Linked DNA regions of Homo sapiens: region 1 is linked to region 2. The links are contacts of gene promoters, found by promoter capture Hi-C in human tissues and cell types (Jung and others, 2019). All regions are on one chromosome and are shown on one strand. Each heading gives the region's core, a stretch centred on a gene start or on the middle of the fragment in contact. The rest is flanking DNA. Distances are from core to core; before and after follow the strand shown. Region 1 overlaps CYP4F22 (cytochrome P450 family 4 subfamily F member 22). Region 2 holds the start of EPHX3 (epoxide hydrolase 3).

Region 1 (4,305 bases), core at 1,011-3,510, 320 kb after region 2:
GATTTTGGGTATTGATACATGCACAAAAGAAAGAAAAACTGGGCCAGTTCCGGTTTACAGGTGCAGTGGCTCACACTTGTAATCCCAGCACTTTGAGAGGCTAAGGTGGGAGAATCGCTTGGGCCCAGGAGTTTGAGACCAGCCTGGGCAACACAGCGAGACCCCCCATCTCTACCAAAAAGGAAAAAGTTGGCCCAATGTGGTGGCTTGTGTCTGTAATCCCAGTGCTTTGGGAGACCAAGATGGGAAGATTGTTTGAGGCCAGAAGTTCCAGCTCAGCCCAGCCTGGGCAACACAGTGAGACCCCATTTCTAAAAAAAAAAAAAGTTAGCCAGCCATGGTGATGCACATCTGCAGTGCCAGCCACTCGGGAGGCTGAGGCAGGAGGATCGCTTGGGCCCAGCAGTTTGAGGCTGCAATGAGCTATGGTTATTTATTTATTTATTTATTTGAGACTGGGTCTTGCTCTGTTGCCCAAGCTGGAGCGTGTGCAGTGGTGCGATCTTGGCTCACTGCAACTTCTACCTCCTGGGTTCAAGAGATTCTCCTGCCTCAGCTTTCTGAGTAGTTGGGATTACAGGTGTGTGCCACCATGCCTGGCTAATTTTTTTGTATTTTTAGTAGAGATGGGGTTTCACCATGTTGGCCAGGCTGGTCTTGAACTCCTGAGCTCAGATGATCCATCTGCCTTGGCCTCCCAAAGTGCTGGGATTACAAGCGTGAGCCACCGCGCCCAGCCTGCAATGAGCTATGATCGCGCTTCTGCACTCCAGCCTGAGTGAGACTCTGACTCTAACAAACAAACAAACAAACAAAGACAGACAAACAAACAAAAAAAAAGAAAAACAGGTGGAGGGGGCACTTTAGCTCGAGTGGTTATGAAAGGCCTTGCCGAGGAGATGTTTGAGCTGAGAACTTAGGGGATGAAGGATCAGGGAGAAGCCTGTTCTAGGCAGAGGAAACAGCAAGTGCAAAGGCCCTGAGGTGGAATCTCACTGGTGCGTGTGAACAACAGAAGGAGGCAGGTGTGGCTGCATTGCAGGAAGTGCAAGGTGGAATGGAAGAGGTGGCCCTGGGGTGCTCCCCATCCATCTTTACTGACCCCCAGAGGCTCAGGGAAGGGGGCCAGGCTGGGATGTCTGGGGCAGCCCCCAGACTCATCTCCAGGCTGTTCCTCCCTAGGTGTACAACCCCTACCGCTTTGACCCGGACAACCCACAGCAGCGCTCTCCACTGGCCTATGTGCCCTTCTCTGCAGGACCCAGGTAACCCCTCTATTTCCCCTAGTCCAAGCCAGCTGTGTAGGAACAGAGGCAGGGAAAGATCAGGAATGTGCCTCTCAGGAGCAGAGATCAGATGGCACCCAGGCGTCCTTTCTGAAGACCCAGCACCCTCTCCCCAATGCGCCAGGAGGCCCCCAAATCAGACTCTGCAATAGCATCCTGGGTATTGAGCACCAACGGTGTGTCAGGCCCTGAGTTCTGGGCTCCCACGCTCCCATTGGCTCTATGATGCCTTTGTCCCCGTTTTTACAGATGAAGGAACTGAGACTCAGAGGGGGCGCTGTGTATCCAGGACACACAGCTAGTAAGAGGCTGTACTGGGATTCAGACACTCAACCCCAAGGTCACATTAATTGAGCGATCCGTGGGGTCTCACTTTAACCCTCACCCAGCGTGGGGTTTCACTTTAACCCTCAGCCAGCCCAGGATGCTTGCTTCATTTTCAAAGGAGGCATGTGACCCCCGGGGACCAGTGCTCACACAGAAGCTGGGCCTGAGCCCTGTCCCCTCTTCCTCCAGGAATTGCATCGGACAGAGCTTCGCCATGGCCGAGTTGCGCGTGGTTGTGGCACTAACACTGCTACGTTTCCGCCTGAGCGTGGACCGAACGCGCAAGGTGCGGCGGAAGCCGGAGCTCATACTGCGCACGGAGAACGGGCTCTGGCTCAAGGTGGAGCCGCTGCCTCCGCGGGCCTGAGCGTGGGCGCGCCCCTGCGGCTCCCGAGGGTCCAGGCCCCGCCCCCAAAGGACCAGGACTCGCCCCAAAGATCCCGAGGGCATAGGCCACCCCCCTCGAAGTTCAGGTTCAGCTCCTGGATGACCAGGCACCGCTGTTGAGCAGCCTGGTGGTACTGGCCACGCCCCTCAAGGCAAGGCTCCTCCCCTTAGGGGGCCTGATCCCGCCCCTTGAGGCTTAGGTCCCGCCCCCTGACTTCTCGCACCTGTCCTGTTTGAGGGACCAGGGTCGACCCTGCCCCCTTGGGCTCAGGCCCCGCCCCCAGGATCCTACGGATTGAGGTCCTCAGGCCACGCCCCTGCAGATCCAGGTCTCCAGGCCTTGCCCACTGAGCCTTCAGAGGACCTAAGACCCACCTATGACTCAGGGCCCACCACACCCCACCCCCCCCCAACTGGCTGAACCCCTGGCAGGCTTCCAAACTGAGGAAAGCTGGAGCCTGACGTCAGAGCTTTTAACTCGGACATCACCCTCCTGAGGCCCTCAGCTCATACGGGCAGACTGCTCAGGCGTGAGGCTGGATCGTAGGGTTCGAGGCTGCTTGCTTTTGTTGTTGTTTTGTAAACTCAGACCCTTGTAAGCCCCTTCCTTCCTCCCTTGCCCAAAGATCCTTTGCTGAGTGTTCTGTTTTTGCAGAATAAAAGCAAAGGATGCAGACTTACCCCACCCTCCACCCCTAGCTCAGCCAGATCCTTACACGTGGAGCCCCCAGCATGGGAATGAGGGGCTCTGCAACTGAGCGAAGCTGCGGGCTAGGAGGCTGGAAAGCCATTTATCCTAGGACATAAACTCAGATTTTGGGGGTCAGTTTGTGTGTTCATTTATTTCATCAACAGATCACATATTGTTTGCTGGCACTGCTTCAGAACCACAGGCAGGCCCTGTTTTCTGCCTTCTTAGGGGGTGGGGGACAGATGTTGAACAAATAATTCCACGTGTAAAGGTTTATTTACAACCCAGGACAGGTGCTCCAAAGGAGAGGCCCCGGGTGCTGGATGAATATAGCAGAGGGATGGGGATGGGTCAGGGAGAGCTTCTCCGATGCTGGAATGGAAGTTGAGTGGGTGACAAGGGGAGGGAAGAGTATTCCAGGCAGAAGGAACAACATCTGAGAATACCCTGAGCTGAGGGAGAACAGAGTGTGTTTGAGGAACTCACCAGGGGCCAGGTGGTTGGATCTGGGAAGTGGGGGCAGAATGAAGGAAGGGGCCAAATGCACAGGCTTTATGCTGAGGGCAATAGGGAGCCATGGAGAGTGTGTGAGCGGGATCAGGACAGGACATGGCCAGATCTAGGGCTGGCAGGGAGGTGACTTGCGGGGTTGGGACCCTGGGAAAGAGGGAAGCTGAGGTCCAGACAACAGGAAGGGCCAGGATTGGGGTGACTATCTAGCAGTGGGGGCTGAGGGGAGGGAGGTGGTAAGGGTGATGCTCAGGTATTTGGCTGAGGGAACTTGATGGTAGAGTAGTCCCTGATATGGGAATATAAAAGATGGGGGCCAGGCGTGATGGCTTACACCTGTAATCCCAGCACTTTGGGAGGCTGAGGCTGGAGGATTGCTTGAGACCAGGAGTTAGAGACCAGCCAGGGCAACACAGTGAGACTCCATTTCTACAAAAAATAAAAAATTAGCCAGGTGTGATGGTGCACATCTGTAGTCCCAGCTACTTGGGAGGCTGAGGCAGGAGGATCACTTGAGCTGAGGAGTTTGAGGCTGCAGTGAGCTATGATCACACCACTGCACTCCAGCTGGGGCAACAGAGCAAGACCCTGTTCCAAAAACAAACAAACAAAAAAAGGTGGGCAATGACAATGTCAGCAATTTTATACATATAAAATGCTACACTAAAGGAAAATGATACTGCTATTATACCACATATATAATATATATATATGCACTATATATGCCATCATTATATATATAGTGGTGGTATAATAGTGGTATCATCTTCCTTTTAGGTAGCATTTGCCTGTAGACTATTTCCATCTAGGTCACTAGAGACAATAATATTAATTCAACAGGCCGGGTGCGGTGGCTCATGCCTGTAATCCCAGCACTTTGGGAGGCTGAGACAGGTGGATCACCTGAGGTTAGGAGTTTGAGACCAGCCTGGCCAACATGGTGAAACCCTGTCTCTACTAAAAAATACAAAAATTAGCCACGTTTGATGGCGGGTGCCTGTAATCCCAGCTACTCAGTAGGCTGAGGCAGGAGAATCGCTTGAACCTGGGAGGTGGAGGTTGCAGTGAGCCGAGATTGTGCCACTGCACTCCAGCCTGGGCGAC
Region 2 (4,154 bases), core at 203-2,702:
AACCATCCGCTCGACCAGGGATGGGTAGTAGATGGAGAAATGCCAGGCAAGGAGGGCACCCCAGTCATGGGCCACAAGGATGCACTTCGAGTAACCTGTGGGAATTCAAGGAGCTCGCATAAGTGAGGTGCCCAGTAGGACTGAAGCAGGGATGGGGGAAGTAGGTTCCAGCAAGGAGAAAGCGGGGGTATGCGTGTGTGCAGGATGAGGGAGGCCACGCCTAGGATGGGGGTATGTCTGCACCCAGGCCTAGGATGACATCTTTGATGTCCACCAGCAGCAGGTCGATTGTGTAGCAGTCCACATCCCGAGGTGCATCCGAGGGGCCATAGCCTCGCAAGTCCACAGCCACAACATGGAAGCGGCTCTGGAACTCCCGGAGCTGGTAACGCCAGGAGAACCTGCCAGGCGGGCGAGGGAGGGAGGCTGAGTCAGGGCCCTCAGGTTGCACCTGCACCCTACGCACATCAGCAACCATTGGCAAACCCTCCTTCCTGCTCTAAACTTCCCCTAAAAGGAGGATGGGGAATCCCAGGCAGAGGCAGAGGCTGAGGCTGAAGCCAGCTACACCCTGAATCCAGGGAACTTCAATCAACCTCAATACCCCTTTGTCCTGTCCCTTCAGGGCCTAGGGATCCTGGGTATGCTGGCTCAGTACCCCTATCCCCATCTATGTTCAGCTTGTCCCGATCTATACAGCCCTCCTCCCTGCCTCTTGGGAGCCCAAGCTCCACCTGCCCCCGAGTCCCGTGGGCCTCAGGCCCCTGGCCCCAGACGTACCAGTTCTCAGGGAAGCCGTGCAGAAACAGCATGAGGGGTCCGTTACCTCGTCCAGCCGAGACATAGTGCAGACGCAGGCCCGAGCTCTAGGGGGAGGGCACAGCCTGAAGCCTGGGGAACCCTCTCTCCCGAGGCTTGAACCGTCTCGACCCCACGCGACCCCGCAGCCCCGATAGCGCCCCCGTGCGATCACCTTGAGGTTCAGGAAACCGTGCTCACCCAGCGAGGGGTCGCTCAGGCAGGCGGGGGACGCGCTCCGACGGCGCCCGCAGCAGCCGCGCCGGGGCCGGCACAGCACGTGCGTGAGCGCTATGCAGCCGTAGACCGCCGCGGCCACCAGCGCCACCGAGAACACCAGGCTCCACATGAAGGCGCGCAGCAGCTTCAGCGACAGGCGCGACGGCGCCAGCAGCGCGGTCACCACCAGCTCCGGCATGTCGCCGCGCTCCGGGACCACGGCGGCGCTGCCGGCCAGGGGCACCTGCAGCAGCGGCGAAGCGGTGTCAGGGCTCAGGGGCCCATCGCCCTTGGCCTGGGGCCCCTCCGTGCCGTCGGGATTTGTGGGACGCGCTGAAGGAAGAGGCGGGCGGCTCCGACAGAAAACAGCCAGAGCGCACCACTCACCTGAGTGCCAGGTAAACACCTGGGCGCGACAGGGACAGGAAACAAGGGTAGGGTGCGGAGGCTGGGGAGGAAGAGGTTGGAAAGGGGGGAAATAAATGGGCGGGGCCTAGCAGGTCCTGTGCGGGGCTTAGGGCCGGGGCGGGGCCCAGGAAGACTCAGCAGCGGGTGGGTGAGGGTCTAAAGGCGGCAATTCCGGGCCGGGTGCGGTGGCTCACGCCTGTAATCCCAGCACTTTGGTAGGCCGAGGCGGGCGGATCACCTGAGATCAAGAGCTCGAGACCAGCCTGGGCAACGTGGTGAAACCCCGTCTCTACTAAAAATACAAAAATTAGCTGGGCGTGGTGGCGGGCGCCTGTAGTCCCAGCTACTTGGGAGGCTGAGGCAGGAGAATCGCTTGAACCCGGGACGTGGAGGTTGCAGTGAGCTGAGATCGCGCCACTGTACTCCAGCCTGGGTCACAACAGGGAAACTCCGTCTCAAAAAAGAAAAAAAAAAAAGGCAATTCCGAGCCCAGACAAACCTTAAGGAGGGGATCCTGGATCTTCAGTTAAGTGGGCGACACCTGGAGTGAGGGGCGGGGCATATGCAGAGTAGGTGCGGCCTACAAGCCAAAAAGGAGAAAGAGTTGGAATGGTGGGCCTGGCTTATGCGGGTGGGCGGGGAGAGGGTGGATCCTAGAGGAGGTGAGGCCTAACATTGGGCGAAGAAGGCGGGAGCCTGGGCCAATGAGCTGACGGTAGGCCGGGGAGGGGGCGGTGGGGTGGGGTGGGCAATGGGCAATGAGACGGAGGGCGGGGCCGGGACCTAATATGGCGGGTCAGGAGGGTCTGGAAGACGAAGAAGAGGGACAGGCAATGCCAGGTCTAGGACTAGGAGGGAGGCGCGGGCGGTATTAGCGGCTGGAGGAGGCTTCGGGAGGCCCGGCCGACGGCCGCCGCCTGGTGCTACCCACCCAGGGGCGCGCGACCCTCCCTTCGGTCTGGCTCCAAAGACCTAGCAGCACTGACTTCACCCAGCTGTGGTTCCAACGGCGGGTCCAGCGGCCTCGGCCCGGCGCCGTCCTCCTGCTGGCCCAACAGGCCCGCCAGCCCGCCCCTGTACGTCTGTGATTGGACGGCGGCGGCCACTGATGTTCAAGCGACAGGTCCTGGCCCGGGAGCCAATCTGCAGGTGTTGAGGCCCAGGCTCCGAGAGCGGGCCGAGGAGGCGTGGATACCCTGATTCCTAGGGGGCAGGCCTGGTTCCCCCGAGGAGGACCCGGCCTATGAATGACTGGAGTTCTGGGGTTCTGGCCGAAAGAGGAAGTGGGACAGGGCCGGGTGTGATGGGGCCTAGAGTCACAGAGCCTTGCGGCCCTGCTGTCCCTGCAAGAAGCCAGCTTCTGGCCAGGCGCGGTGGCTCACGCCTGTAATCCCAGCACTTTGGGAGGCCGAGGCGGGCGGATCACGAGGTCAGGAGATCGAGACCATCCTAACATGGTGAAACCCTGTCTCTACTAAAAATACAAAAAATTAGCCAGGCGTGGTGGCGGGCGCCTGTAGTCCCAGCTACTAGGGAGGCTGAGGCAGGAGAACGGCGTGAACCCAGGAGGCGGAGGTTGCAGTGAGCTGAGATTGCGCCACTGCACTCCAGCCAGGGCGACAGAGCGAGACTCCGTCTCAAAAAAAAAAAAAAAAGCAGCCAGCTTCTTCCTCCTATTTTGCAACCTTCTCCCGATATCCTTGAACATTTTAGGGACAGCCATCACTTAACCATAGAGCAACCCTATTAAGTCTAAGTAGCATAATCACATTCCTGTAGTATAGATCATGAACCTGAAATTCGAGGATGAAGTCATTTGCCTGAAGACATACATCTTGTAAAATAGCCATCCGCAAAGATGTAGGGAAAAAGGCAGCGATCTGTGGCTACACCTCCCCTTCCTCCCGGAAGCAGCCACTGGAACGTTTTTAGCTTTTTCTTTTTTTTTCAGATGGAGTTTCGATCATAGCTCACTGCAGCCTCGAACTCCTGGGCTCAAGCACTACAACCTGTAGTTGGGACTACAGGCCTGTGCCACCACACTCAGCTAATTTTTCAAAAACTTTTCAGAGAGACGACTTGCTATATTGTCCAGGCTGGTCTCAAACTCCTGGCCTCAAGCAATCCTCAAGCCTCCACCTCCCAAAGTGGGATTACAGATGCAAGCCACCGTGCCTGACCTTTATTTCTTGACTTAACCAATGTATGACATCAGCCACTGACTTGCTCACATCACTACCCCGGACGTGCCGTTTTTTGTTTCCCTGTTAGTTTCCTTTAAAAACACTCCACTTGTCACCTCTTGCCCCTTTCCACCTCCCACTTTTATCCATATACCTTTGTACTGTCAAGGCTGCTAAACATTATACTGTCCTGGGACCATAACTAAGTCCATGAAGTTGCCACTTAAAGGTGAATAGTGGTTTATGTTCTGCCTCAGTGAACAATGCATCTCAAGAGCCGAATAGACCACTATGATTACATTGCCCATAGTGTACAAACTTTTGTTCTCCCTGGACTACTTAACCACTACCTTTCTTTTGTTGTGTGATTAGCCTACATCAAAGCTTTGGGGGTTTTTTTGTTTTTGTTTTTTTTGAGATGGGAGTCTCACCATATCACCCAAGCTGGAATGCAGTGGTGTGATCTCGGCTCACCGCAACCTCCGCCTCCAGTGTTCAAGCAATTCTCCTGCCTCAGCCTCCGGAGTAGCCGGGACTACAGGTGTG

The links. The method cuts DNA at HindIII sites, captures the fragments that hold promoters and counts their contacts. A contact is called where the count stands out against the background at its distance.
Region 1: a fragment that was not itself captured here is called in contact with the fragment with the promoter of EPHX3 in region 2 in 1 of the 25 tissues and cell types used here (spleen).

The regions. Positions count from the first base shown.
Region 1 is chr19:15,549,492-15,553,796 of GRCh38, forward strand. CYP4F22 (cytochrome P450 family 4 subfamily F member 22) reads left to right here. Exons shown (of 14, transcript NM_173483.4): 13 at 1,183-1,265; 14 at 1,803-2,826. The coding sequence ends at 1,980. Among named protein-coding and RNA genes, the nearest start is that of CYP4F22, 43 kb to the left of the region's middle. RefSeq lists a silencer at 2,075-2,124. The HindIII fragment of the contact is 4,717 bases long and covers 1-4,305 here.
Region 2 is chr19:15,230,996-15,235,149 of GRCh38, forward strand. EPHX3 (epoxide hydrolase 3) reads right to left here and starts at 1,453. Exons shown (of 7, transcript NM_024794.3): 1 at 974-1,453; 2 at 781-866; 3 at 244-401; 4 at 1-95. The coding sequence starts at 1,216. RefSeq lists an enhancer at 1,203-1,704 and a silencer at 2,043-2,202. The HindIII fragment of the contact is 16,546 bases long and covers 1-4,154 here.